2 separate regions of the Homo sapiens genome follow, and region 1 is linked to region 2. Evidence: promoter capture Hi-C in 16 types of primary human blood cells and fetal thymus (Javierre and others, 2016). All regions are on one chromosome and are shown on one strand. The core of a region is centred on a gene start or on the middle of the fragment in contact, and the rest is flanking DNA. Distances in the headings are between cores, read along the strand shown. Region 1 overlaps SOAT1 (sterol O-acyltransferase 1). Region 2 holds the start of RASAL2-AS1 (RASAL2 antisense RNA 1).

Region 1 (7,381 bases), core at 4,285-6,784, 1.2 Mb after region 2:
TGGCCAGGATACATTCTTAAAAGTGAAATTGCTAGGTCAAAGGGCTTTTGCATTTAAAATTTAGACATTATCAAATTTCCTTTAAAAAATGTTATGCCAATTTATATTCCTAACTATACTGTTTCACCACACTCTTGGCAATAATCTTACCAGTCTTTTAAAATTCCTGATTTGATGGGTGAAAAACAGTATACATATAGCATAAATTTGTTCTCATGAATTTTAAGTGAGGTGGGGAAATTGTTTCATATTTATTGACCATGTATTTTTTTTCTTTAAAAGCCCTGTTCATATCCTTTGCTCACTTTTATTCCTTATCTGGTGGTTATTATTTTTAAGAGCTTTTTCTATATTAAATAAATTAATCCTCTGATTATGTACTTTGAATATTTTCTTAATCAAACTAGTGATTTGTCTTTTGACTTTGCTTATGTATGTGTGCTTTGCCATGTTTTGTTTTTATATATCAAATATTCTTTTAATTGTTATAATTTTTTTTTTGTTTGTTTTTGTTTTTATTTTTGTTTTTGTTTTTTGAGATGGAGTCTCGCTCTGTTGCCCAGGCTGGAGTGGAGTGCAATGGCGTGATCTTGGCTCACTGCAGCCTCTGCCTCCCGGGTTCAAGCAATTCTCCTGCCTCAGCCTCCTGAGTAGCTGGGATTACAGGCATGTACCACCATGTCCTGCTAATTTTTGTATTTTTAGTAGAGACAGGGTTTCACCATATCAGCCAGGCTGGTCTCGAACTGCTGACCTCAAGTGATCCACCCACCTCAGCCTCCCAAAGTGCTGGGATTACAGGCATGAGCCACCACGCCTGGCTGCTTATAGATATTTTTTTTGTCATGCTTAGAAATCATCCAAGATTATGACAAAAAGAAAACATGACTTTTTTTTTTTTTTACTTTTGTGGTGTTTTATATTGAAATATTTGATCCATATGAAATTTATTTTTGAGTGATGCATTCATCATTGGGGATCTAATTTTTTAGTTTTCCAAAATGGCTAGTTAGTTGTTTCAACATTATCTATTAAGTCTCTGTTTCTGTATGAACATGCACTAATCCACGTTTCTGGCTCAGATTCCATTTTTCTGAAGTAGTGCAGACTTGTGAGTAGTTGAGAACTTTGTAAAGTTTTTGTGGTCAGTGGAGCAATAGACGATTACAGATGGATTTTACTATCTTATCTTCCCTTTTATTGTTAAGATTGAAAAGTGATTGACTCTTTCAAGAAATACTCCTAAACCTAACCATACTATGGACATAAAGGTGACTTTTCAAGTGACTTTTGTATCGCTTTGTGGAGAACAAAGTGAAGCTGAAATGTAGGTATTATAAGACACGGTCAATGAGAGTTTTTTAGAAAACAATCAGGATTTAAAAATGAGTTTGAATTTCTAGGCAATAAACTAGTCAGTGCCTACACGTTAGCTAATTCTGTTCTTGCCACAAGTAGATGAAGAAAACATTTATTAAAAGAACTGCAACTTGAAAATTGGTTATTAGTCACTGCTTAGTATTCCTTAGTCATCTTTATGAGTGTAATCACATAGGTTGGCTGTCCTTTTTTTTTCTTCAATGCTGCATGACTAGGGGTCAGGAGACAAGGATTTCTTCAGGCTCAGTTACTTATTGGCCATGTGACAGTGTACAAGATGTTCAATTTCTTTGAATCTCAGTTTCTTTATTTTAAAAATAGAAATGAGGCCAGATGTGGTGGCTCACGCTTATAATCCATGCACTTTGAGTAGCTGAGGTGGAAGGATTGCTTGAGACCGGGAATTCAAGACCAGTCTGGGCAACATATCAAGACCCCATCTTTACAAAAGTAAAAAAAGTTAGGTGGGCATGGTAACATGTGCCTGTAGCCGAAGCTACTCAGGAGGCTGAGGTGGGAGGATTGCTTGAGCCCAGGAGTTAGAGGTCGCAGTGAGCTAGGATTGCACCACTGCACTCCAACCTGGGTGACAGAGCAAGACTATATGTTAAAATTTGTAACAAGTTTAACAAGGATGCGGATTTAGAAATTTGGAGGCCATAATGTCTTCAGGGAAAAGAAGAGTTGCAGAAATGGGTGGAAACTATTGGCTAGCAAGAAAACAAAGATAAGAAGTGTAAAATTCTTTCTCAGAACATTTTATATTAGAAGGAAAAGTACAGCATGTCATGAGGGTTAAGTGATCTTCAAAAGGACTGTTTTTAAAAAAAAAATCGTTTCTAAATTTCAGTTATTTTGCCATTATATTACTATTACTATGTAACTTTAAAAAATTCACTTGAAAATTTATTCTCAACCTAAGTAATAAATTGTTAAATCATAGGTTTGATGTTCAATTACTTATTTTTAAAAAACAAATTAAATATATAATAACTTGATAAGTGTTAGTAGAACTACAGATTTTATTTTCAGTATCACTGATGACATCCATATCATAATTTCTGAAACATGATTTTTAAAGAACAAATTGTCTCTGAATTTAAATGTGGACAATATAATTGACTCAGTGGGTTGAACTTTTTGAATAGGGAATGATTAAGACAATAATAGTTTGAAGGGTTAGTCTTGAAAAAGAGATGGGCTACTCTTTCCTCTGACACAGAAATGTTGGAGAAGAGGTTGAAAGACAGCAAAAATTAAGAAACATAGAAGACATTTAAGGATTTGGTACCAAAACTGAACAACTAAAAGTTACTTGGTGGGGCTGGGACTTGAAAGTGGAAAAGGTTTCCAACTACTTTTGTGAGGAATGTCACAGAAATTCATCAAGAGGCAGAGACAAAGATTGCATATTTTCATTGCTGGCCTGCCTAAGGCTTGACTGCAGCAGTTTAGAATGGGCCTATTTTCCTAACTTTTTCTGTAGCGCATGGCAATTTGGAATCAGAAGGCAGATAGCGGGTAATTTCTGGAGTCGGCGTGTGGCATGGTGGGTCCAGGAAATTGGTGGTGGTGATAAGGGACAGATAGAAATAATGACAGAGGGTTAGTAAGTCCGTGCTGGTTAAGAAAACTGGAAAACCAAAATGATGACTTCTATCAGAAGAGAAACTGTCTCTTTCCCTGTCTTTCTCTTTAGCGATGAAACCTTCGCTAGAAATTCCCCTACAGACTTCTCGTGTCTCATTGGCCAGAGTTAGATTACAAGTTATGCTGGCTATCTACCTTTTGCCTCTCCAGTCTTTTCTACGCTACTTTGTTTCCTGGGAGACTGACGTTAAGAACTGCAACAATAGTCTCCAGTGCCCTGTGTGTTTCTGGTAGGCTTGGCCAGTGGGAGAACTTCAGGAGATCTAAGAGCAGAGAGTAAGGTGGGTGTATTTATAACTAAGGTTCTCTCCCTGGTAGGTAACCATTGCTCCTTTCTAATATTTCTCTCTAAAGAGTTCTCTCTGGGTTCCACTAACCCTTTACCCGCTTTGCCCTTTCTGGCCTCAGGATGGTAACAGCTTTCCTGATGTTTATTACTAGCCCTAGAATTCCATATCATCCTTATTACCATCCTTTGTTGCTTTTCTTAAACTCTGACCACACACTAGAAAAAGGACCTCTTTAAATTTTTCCCAGTCAATAAGCTTGAGTGGGTCATCTCTTTGCTGTCTGATACTCAGGTCCATTTTTAAATCAGTTTCTCGCAAAGGCAGTGACATGCATGTCCTTATTTGGGAAGCAACCGGCAGTGTTCACCATGGCTGTGTTACATTATAAAAAATAATGTGTGTGTACTTGTCTGTTTTATTTGCCAACCAGATTTACAGTAAACTTGGCCATCTAGAACAAAGTTGGCAAACGTGGCCGTGTTCATTCTTTTGTGTTTGTAGTGCTTTCTCCTGTTATCACAGTAGAGTTGAGTAGTTGTTACATAGTTGCAGACTATACTGCCCATTACGGAAAAAGCTTTCTGACTCTTGATCTAGAATTACGTTGTTCAATATGGTTGCCACTAGAAGTACACTGTTTAATGTAGTCTGGTTGAGCACTTGAAATGTGGCTAGTCTGGATTGAGAAACACTATAGTTATGATATGTCAGATTTCAGAGACTTACTGGCACCCATTTCTTTTTACTTTTTAATGTGGCTCCTAAAAATTTTAAAATTACACATGGTGATTCACATTTTATGTGTATGTCTGTGTATATATGTGTATATATATATGTATATGTGTGTATATATGTGTATATATATATGTATATGTGTGTATATATATGTATATATATATTTTTTTTAGACAGAGTTTTGCTTTTGTTGCCCAGGCTGGAGTGCAATGGTGCTATCTCTGCTCACCGCAACCTCCGCCTCCCAGGTCCAAGCGATTCTCTTGCCTCACCCTCCCAGGTAGCTGGGATTATAGGCATGCGCCACCACGCCTGGCTAATTTTGTATTTTTAGTAGAGACGGGGTTTCCCCATGTTGGTCAGGCTGGTCTCGAACTCCTGACCTCCGGTGATCTGCCTGCCTCGGCCTCCCAAAGTACTGGGATTACAGGTGTGAGCCACCGTGCCTGGCCACACATTGTATGTTTATAGGACGACACTGATCAGGAATGTAACTGGTGGCCTAGAAAGTAAGTAGATAAGCTTCCCTTAGGCCAAAGCCTATTAAATACAATATTGTCAAGAAAAGAGAGCATGGCATTAAGAGGCATCTGACTGAGCTTCAGGCCTCAGAAAAATCCAACAAGTCTTCATGCTTCATTCCTTTGCCTGGAATAATGTTTCTAGCATTTGTTCACCATAATTTTTCTTTATTATTTGAGACTCAGTTCAAATATTGACTCCTGCAAAAGCCTCCTACACCCCTCATTCTCCCACAGCGCTCCTCTGTATTGTCCTTTTCCCTATTTGTAGTTTTCTCCTGAGATCCTGAAGGGAGGGTTTGCCCTGCATGTATTGGGTCCTCAGTGGGCTTTTACTTAATGCATGAGTATATAAATTGAGTAAATTAGTTACCAATTTAACAAGCCTGGTTATTTGTCTCTTTTCTTCTGTGTAGCTTTGGCGGTAGATTGACTATAGTAATAGAAGTGTACGATTGTTAGGGAGAACCCTGTGGAAGCAGCCTAGGTAGAAAGGCACAGCTCCCCAGGACTGCTGAGTGGGGCCTGATTGCACTCCACATTTCCGTTTTTGCTAAAGATATCACTATAATAGTATGGTACAACAATGGATCTCTCTTACTTGTTCCGAAGATTATGTAGGGTAAAGTACATTTTTGTTTTATTTTTTTGTAGAGAATGGGGGGGTCTCACTTTGTTGCTCAGGCTGGTCTCAAACTCCTGGCTTCAAGTGACCCTCCTGTCTCAGCCTCACAAAGTGCTGGGATGATAATAGGCGTGAGCCAGCACGCCTGGAGTCTGGTGTTTTTTTTAGGGTAGCAAAGCATGTCATAATTTTACAAAAATTTTCATCAAAACTGGTTAAAATAAGATTTTTGACATGTCAAGGAATAAATTTTAAACATTCCCATTAAGTATAGCAGGTTTTAAAAGAGATAGCATTTATTCATGAAGATAAGTATTGCAAGCCTGATTTTTTTAGAAATCAGAAATTTAAGGGAAAAAATGTTGAATAGTTTTCCTTATGGACTTATGCGGGGTTCTATTAAGTTTCAGATAGCAAATAACTGACTCCTAGTGTTAGCAGTTAGTGTGTTACTAGAGGGAGGCAAATGATTCCGAAATTACATCACCCTCAGTCCTGGCTTATCATTGTTTCAGGGTCAGTGTTTTAGAAATTGAGAAGCCTTGAGTTGAGTGCTTGTAAATAGTTCTTCAAATCATTGGATGTGGGTGGGGATGGTGGCTCATCCTTGTAATCCCAACAGTTTCAGAGGCCAAGGCATGAGGATTGCTGGAGGCCAGGAGTTCAAGACCAGCCTGGGCAACATAGCGAGGCTCTGCCTTTACAAAAAAATTTTTTTTAATTAGGTGGGTGTGGTGGCATGTGAGTGTGGTGGCATGTGCCTGTAGTCCTAGGTACTTGGGAGGCTGAGGCGGGAGGATCCCTTGAGCCTAGGAGTTCCAGGCCACAGTGAGCTATGATCATGCCATAGCCACTGCCCCCTAGCCTGAGCAACAGAGTGAGAACCTGTCTTAAAAAAAAAAAAGCAGTGGATATTAGCTTTTAGGCATTCTTTTGACTTTGACATCTAATTTTTAAATTTTAAATTGTAGAAAGTTAAGAATTTCTTTGTAATATTGTATGAAGAGGTATTTTGAAGGTAAAGGAAAATGAATTAGCATTTTAAAATATATTTTTCTTCCACTTACTTAACTTTGTCATTTTCAGTGGGGTCTTCAGAGACTCTGTGAACAAATCTTTTTTCTAACTTTCCAGTGGCTGCATCTCAAAGCCTGTTTGTAATGATGGCTGTCGTGTTATTTATGGATAGACAGATTCTTTTTGGAAGGGATGCACAAGTAGTGAGAATTAATCTTTTACAGTCTCCTTACCAATCCTCCTCTCCCATGGTAGCTGAATTAGTTGAAGGAAAGAAGCTTTTGTCTTCATTTTTTTATGAAATAGTTCATTTATGAAACCATGGTCTGGTCATAGAACTAAATTAAAAATATATTCTTTAACTTATTGAAAAATCAAATGGACATTTGTCTTACCCTTATATTTCTTAATCAGTTACCAATTTGTAAATATCTTAAATTAATCCTCTGCTCTCCATTCTCCTTGCCATTTACAACATCACTTTTTGTCCGGATTTATTGCATTTCTCTGTTATGTGGTCCTTTCCATCTTCCAATATCAGCTCAGTATTTTCCTGCATAAAATTCTTAGTTTCCTCAAAGCCCTTGTTATTATATGACCTAGCCTTCTTCCCAGTCATCAATTCTGCCATTATCGATAATTGAAGACATTCCACTGTCTCCTGGCTTCCATTGATGTTAAGTCAGGTATGCGTTGTAATTGCAGTACTTGCGTAGTTGATATTCTTTCTGGGTGCTTTTAGTTTTTTTTTTTAACCCCTGCGTCAGACAGTTTCACTGTGATATATCTAAGTCGATTATTATTATTATTTTTTCTTTTGAGATGGAGTTTCACTCTTGTTGCCCAGGCTGGAGTGCAATGGTATGATCTCGGCTCACCGCAACCTCCACCTCCCGGGTTCAAGCGATACTCCTGCCTTAGCCTCTTGAGTAGCTGGGATTACAGGCATGTGCCACCACGCCAGCTAATTTTGTATTTTTAGTAGACAGGGCTTCTCCATGTTGGTCAGGCTGGTCTCAAACTGCCGACCTCAGGTGATCCACCTGCCTTGGCTTCCCACAGTGCTGGGATTACAGGCGTGAGCCACCACGCCTGGCACTAAGTAGATTATTTATCCTGCTTGGAATTCTTTGACTTTATCCTAGAATTTGTGTCTCTCAACA
Region 2 (6,692 bases), core at 2,321-4,820:
TGGTTCACTGCAGTCTCAAACTCCTGGACTCAAGTGATTCTCCTGCCTCAGCCTCCTGAGTAGCTGGGACTACAGGTGTTTGCAACCAGGCCCAGTTAATTTTTTTCTATTTTTTTGTAGAGATGAGGGTCTCACTATGTTGTCCAGGCTGGTCACAAACTCCTGGGGCTCAAGTGGTCCTCCTGCCTCAGCCTCTAAAAGCACTATGATTATAGGTGTAAGCCACCATGCCTGGCCTGTGAAAGTATTTTATTTTTAAGTTATGAACACTAGATAAATTTCAGACATACTATTACTTAGGCAATTAGATAATGACCTGCTGCTAGTCTGGGGTCAGGATAGGGAGGTGAAGCAGGGACCAGTATCTGGAACGTTTGGATTTAAAAAGTAGGATTATTGAAAATGGATTAAAGACTTAAATGTAAAACCCCAAACCATAAAAACCCTAGAAGAAAATCTAGGCAATACCATTCAGGACATAGGCATGGGCAAAGACTTCATGACTAAAACACCAAAAGCAATTGCAACAAAAGCCAAAATTGACAAATGGGATCTAATCCAACTAAAGAGCTTCTGCACAGCAAAAGAAACTATCATCAGAGTGAACAGGCAACCTACAGAATGGGAGAAAGTTTTGCAATCTACCCATCCGACAAAGGTCTAATGTCCAGAATCTACAAGGAACTTAGACAAATTTACAAGAAAAAAACAAACAACCCCATCAAAAAGTGGGCAAAGGATATGAACAGACACTTCTCAAAAGAAGACATTTATGCAGCCAATAAACATATGAAAAAAAGTTCATCATCATTGGTCATTAGAGAAATGCAAATCAAAACCACAGTGAGATACCACCTCACGCCAGTGAGAATGGTGATTATTAAAAAGTCAGGAAACAACAGATTCTGCCAAGGCTATGGAGAAATAGGAATGCTTTTACACTGTTGGTGGGAGTGTAAATTAGTTCAACCATTGTGGAAGACACTGTGGCGATTCCTCAAGGATCTAGAACCAAAATACCATTTGACCCAGCAATCCCATTACTGGGTATATACCCAAAGGATTATAAATCATTCTACTATAAAGACACATGCACATGTATGTTTATTGCAGTGCTATTTACAATAGCAAAGACTTGGAACCAACCCAAATGCCATCGATGATAGACTGGATAAAGACAATGTGGCACATATACACCATGGAATACTATGCAGCCATAAAAAAGAATGAGTTCATGTCATTTGCAGGGACATGGATGAAGCTGGGAGCCATCATTCTAAGCAAAGTAACACAACAGAAAACCAAACTCTGCATATTCTCACTTATAAGTGGGAGTTGAACGATGAGAACACATGGACACAGGGAGGGTAATATCACATACTGGGGCCTGTCGGGGCGTGGGGGAAAGGGGAGGGAGAGCATTAGGACAAATATCTAATGAATGCAGGGCTTAAAACCTAGATGACGGGTTGATAGATGCAGTAAACCACCATGTTTACTGTAACCACCATGTTACATAGGTATACATAGGCACATGTATACCTATGTAACAAACCTGCATGTTCTGCACATGTATCCCAGAACTTAAAGTTAAAAAAAAAATAGTAGGATTACTAAAAAAGCAGGATTACTGGCGGTTGGCAGAGGCCTTTTCTTGAGCTCAGGAATGGATGATGCCACTGAAAGAGCAGATGTGGAAATAAATTCTGGAAATGTTTCGCATACCACTTGTAATGCTGTTTTTAAGATAATTGCTTGGGTAAATAAATTCCTTATACATTGACTAGTAAAGAGATACTCAACTTTGTACATTTGATGCCATATTCACTTGCTGTCTAACTTATGTTACCATGGCATTAATTTAGTATAAATAAAAATGCTCTAGGTCTACTCAGTGCTGAGCCTTGAAATCTCAGCACTCAACATCTCTTATCCACTAAAGCACACACTGTTGTTTACACGTGGAAGACTGACTATGCAGCCAGTCTAGTAAGCAAGCAAGCAAGCAAGCAAGCAGGGTCCTAGATATTAAAAATGACCATTCCTGTAAACCATCAAGCCACAAATCAACAAGCTTAATCACAAAAGTTTCTTGAGGGAACAAAGTTGAAGTAATATCCATTGAGTCATTGTGGAACTATCTGTACTTGTGGTTGATTAGCCAGGTAAGCTGGTTTTTCCTCAGTTTCCTCACCTGTTAAACAAGAGGCAGAATGATGTTCTCTCTAAAACACTTCTTGCTTTGAAATACTATTACTCTAAATAAGACTTTGGAGAAACTCACAAAATACATCCTTGTTAACTCTCAATAAGCCCAAACAATATTCCAGGACCCCACAAAACCAGAAAACTAACAGGACCCCTTGTAGACCAGTCTCTTTGTGCAACGTAGGGAGAAAGGGCGGGGGGGACTAAAGAACCTCCCAAAAGGTATTAAAAATAGCAACATGTAATTATGAAAAATCTTGTTCCACATTAGGTAGCCACATTCAAGAAAAACTGTTGGAGATCTACTATGTCCAAGGCACGGTTTAAGTTATTACTGTTCAATTTTGAAATTATTATTGTTAACTTGTCAGTAATTTCTTAAACCTAAACTGGTGAAACTCTCCTTGGGTGGACATAAAAGTAAAGCCATGGCCAAGGAGGGAGACAGTCTACAAATAAACCAAAAATAAAATACAAGTGACATCATTAAAGGAAAAAAGCCAACACACTGCACAAAGATCAAAGACAAAACAGAGAAACATGTTTGGTTAATACTGGGCTTTGAGTATTTCATGTGCCTGAGAGGCCCGTCCGTCCATCCACACCACACTTCTTCACCATGCTGTTGCAAACCAATGACAAGTTCAGCTTCAGCGCGGACAGGGCGCAGGGCGCAGACCCTGTGCATATCCCAGAATCCCGGACCCACTGCCACTCCACTCTGGGAAGGAAGAAGGCGCTCCCCCTTGGGTGACTGTAAGATAAAGCAGCTTCTTCGATCTCTTTGTCCAATAAGAAAGAAACGTTGGCCCATAAAGAAAGAAAGAAACAAATAAATAGGAAAGGTGTGAGAAGGAAGGGAAGCTCCTTTCTTTTCTGTTTAAATTTCCCGCACCCTTTTACCTCCCCGCCTTCTCAAACGGTCTTTACTTTGAGCAGCAGAGACCCGGACCGCTCAATACCCGGCTATCCCTGGGAGGGTACTTGGAAAGTAGGCGGGACAGGCCGGATGAATAATTCGGTGTCCGACTTTTCCTGCCTGCGGCGCAGTCCCTCCCCGGCTTCGTTACTCGAGTGCACACGCGGCCGGGCTCTCGGCCCTCGATTGCTTCAGCCTATCACCCTGGGATGCCGCCTGCCGCTGCCGCCGCCGCCGCCGCCGCCACCGCCACCGCCACCGCCACCGCCACCGCCGTGGCTGCCGGGTTTGTGGGATCCGCCGCGGAGCAGGAGCCAGAGCTGTGGCCGGAGCTGTGGCCTGAGAGTCAGGGGGCGGGCAGGCTCATTCCAGAAGTGGGGGCCGAGGACAGGCGGGCTAGAACCCGGGGCCACCGCCCCCTACCCCTCCTCAGGCTGAGGGAACGGGCACTCGGAGCTTCTGAGGCGGCGGCGGCGGGAGCCGGTCAGAGGGGGCGGCCCCTGGCGGCGACGCCCCCAAGCCCAGCCCTGCCCGGCCCCGCTCCATCCCCAGCCAGAGCCTGGTCTGACCGCGAGAGACGCCGGCGGGGCTGAAGAAGGCGGCTCCGAGGAGGTGGGAGGGCGAGCCTCCCCTCCCGGGTTCTTCTGCGTCCTCTCCCGGGAGGGACCCACACACACCTGAGCCCGGACCCACCCTTGGTCGGGGCCACGCTGGATCCTCCTCCCGGCCTGGGTCCCGCCCGCCGACTGCAGGTGGGCTGCATCGCCCGAGCCTCGGGCAGTGGGCGACGGGGAAGGAGGTGAGAGGTGTCCGCGCCGGCTGCCGCTCGGGTCCCTGCCCTCGCTGCGCGCTCTCCTCCTCCCCTTACCGCAGGCAGGGCGCGGAGCCGCGCGCCAGCCCGCCCCGAAGCCGCCGCCTCGTCCCCCTCCCGCCTCGGGGCACCATGGAGCTCTCTCCGTCGTCCGGAGGAGCCGCGGAGGCGCTGTCCTGGCCGGAGATGTTCCCGGCGCTGGAGTCCGACTCGCCGCTGCCCCCGGAGGACCTGGACGCGGTTGTCCCAGTCAGTGGAGCCGTCGCCGGTGGCATGTTGGATCGGATCCTTCTGGAGTCCGTGTGCCAGCAACAGAGCTGGGTCCGGGTGTACGGTAAGGACCACAGGCCGTCTTAGAGGCTGGTGTTTCCTATTTTTGCTTGGGCTGAAATTCATTCCCTAAGTCACAGGCTCATTCCCAGTCCTCATCCGTGCTAGGTCAGTTTCCCACATCCCTTTTTGTTCTGGGGGTGCATTTCTGACAAGTTTCTTCAGACTATCACTTGGGCAGGGATGTCACTCAGTATGGTCTTTGGACCTCTTCAGACACCTGCAGTAAGTTTAATGCGGGAGTTGGGCTATCCAAGACGTAATTCTTAGGCGATTACTTCAAGGGAACAGCCAGGCAATCAATCTTCAAGAAGGTATGATGGAAAAACTCCATGAAACCAAGTGAATGGATTTTCGTCTCTTTTTATTGTTGAATGAGGCAAGACTGGAAACCAAGATATTATGAAAAAGCAGAGGATAAGCTAATGAATGAAAAAAATGCAAACTATGTATTTGGTGGGAGCAAGACTAATCTATAACCTCTGCCTGAACCTCACTCTCTCTAAAAGCAACCACTTATTCCAACGGGTGTGGATTGTTTCAGATTACACTATTGTTTCTGAATCTCGTTGTAAAGTGACTGGGTTGCCACTCAGCAGGTTAAAAGTGATGAACACACTAAAACTTTCCCTTTCTGCATTCCTGGTAACCACCTCTTTAATTAAAACTGAATGATGAGATTCTATTAGGGTGAGCCTTGTGGCAGCACTAAAACCATGCTGGTTTTGAAAACTCATAGCTTAAGGATTTATAGCCTGGCATTCAGGACTGAGCTGTGGCTTTCCAAAATATTGAAACGGCAAGATGTTTATCGCCTAGCTCACGTGACTGCAGAAGACATTAGTAACGTGGCTGAGTATAAGATGGCAAATTTGAAGCACCTGGGATCAAACACAATGTTAAGATGTTATCCTGCAGTCTTGTGCATCTAAGCCTGTAGTGATCAAGTACCTTATGTTTTTTTCTTTCATCTTTCTGAACAGGGTATATGCTTACTATTCAAGAGTGACCAAGACTTAGGTTTTTTTCTGTGTAGTTCAGTTGATTTGAAGACTTAATGTCCATCGCAAAGATCATAGAACTAGGAGTCCAGAGATCTCAGTTCTTGTCTCAGTTCTACCACTAAATGGCTATGGGATTTGGGGCAGATCGAGTCACATTTTTGGCTTGTGATTCCTCATCTGTAAAGTGAGTGGATTGGATTAAATCATCACTAGTGACCCTTTTAATCATAAAAATCCAGGAATTCTTCTTATAACCAGTTCTTAAGGATTTGTGTACCACTTTGTATTTTGCTGGCTGTTTCTTGATGTTACTCTACGTACCGGAAGATTTAAAGCAAAGGAGTGGGAGACGATGCAAGGTCACCCAGTTTGTTCTCAGCAAATTAGATTAAAAACTTTGGTGCCTGATTTTCCGTCTGCCTGCTAAATCCCACTTAGCTGGTCATTTAGAACAAAGGTTGGTGAGAATCTGAAAGTGCATATGAATTAGAGTATATTGTAGTTACAACGTTTTCCCATTCTATCATCTTTCTCTCCTTACACACTTCTTTGGCATACTGTTTATTTGTGTGATGTTAGAAATAGGGCCATGCTATTCTAAGAATACATGTATATGATAATTCGGTATTTCAGTATCCAAAACAATCTGGGTTCTCTGGACCTAGTGTTAACTATCGTTCTTCATTTGTAAGGACATAAAAGTCTACAAATGTATGTTGTTTTGTAGTCCATTCCTAGGGGTTGATTTGTGAAATATATATTGTATATTTTGTGTGTGTGTGTGTGTGTGTGTAAGAGAGAGAGAGAGTGAGAGCAAGTTTACATTATGTTTTTTTTCTTTCGTCCTTCTGAACAGGATATATGTTTATTGTTCAAGAGTGACCACGACTTAGAAGTTTTCTTTCTGCGTGGTTCAATTGATGTCAAGACTTCATATCAGACATCACAGAAATGCATGGTATGTATATGTGTGTGACACACACATATACATACCATGCCTTGCATTTTTGTGACCAATTGCAGACTTACCACTGCATTGTAACTTTTTTTGTTTTCTCTATCAATTAACCAGAAGTTGTTTTTATTTATTGTTTAGTATTGCTACTTTCCTTCCTCTGAGGCAGCTCATCCTGGATACTATTTTGTTGTCTTTAGTTTATGTAAATATTTCAGAACTATTGGAATGACTCTTGGCTATGTCCTTAGCTAGTTTTAAGTTGCCTATTGTATGAACAGGGTGTATGTTTGAAAACTTTGAAGTAAAAACTTTGAAATAAAAGTAATAGAATGTAGAAAAACAATTTGGAGAATACAGAATTTTTGTTTTTCTTGTTTCTTGTCTGTGTGTTCAAAACCTTCGTTGTCTTGGATCACCTAGGTTCTTCTCACAATTTAAAGAGACTTTGATGAGTGTAGTCTA

The links. The method cuts DNA at HindIII sites, captures the fragments that hold promoters and counts their contacts. A CHiCAGO score of 5 or more calls a contact.
Region 1: a contact is called between a fragment that was not itself captured here and the fragment with the promoter of RASAL2-AS1 in region 2, in 1 of 17 cell types (M0 macrophages). The highest score is 6.4, in M0 macrophages.

The regions. Positions count from the first base shown.
Region 1 is chr1:179,309,377-179,316,757 of GRCh38, forward strand. All of the region lies in intron 2 of SOAT1 (sterol O-acyltransferase 1), which reads left to right. Among named protein-coding and RNA genes, the nearest start is that of SOAT1, 19 kb to the left of the region's middle. The HindIII fragment of the contact is 1,919 bases long and covers 4,576-6,494 here.
Region 2 is chr1:178,090,423-178,097,114 of GRCh38, forward strand. It overlaps RASAL2-AS1 (RASAL2 antisense RNA 1), which reads right to left and starts at 3,571. Exons shown (of 2, transcript NR_027982.1): 1 at 3,139-3,571; 2 at 1,086-2,990. RASAL2 (RAS protein activator like 2) reads left to right here and starts at 3,682. Exons shown (of 18, transcript NM_170692.4): 1 at 3,682-4,272. The coding sequence starts at 4,071. RefSeq lists an enhancer at 3,158-3,659 and silencers at 3,281-3,330, 3,381-3,680, 3,751-3,910, 4,061-4,120. The HindIII fragment of the contact is 4,675 bases long and covers 2,073-6,692 here.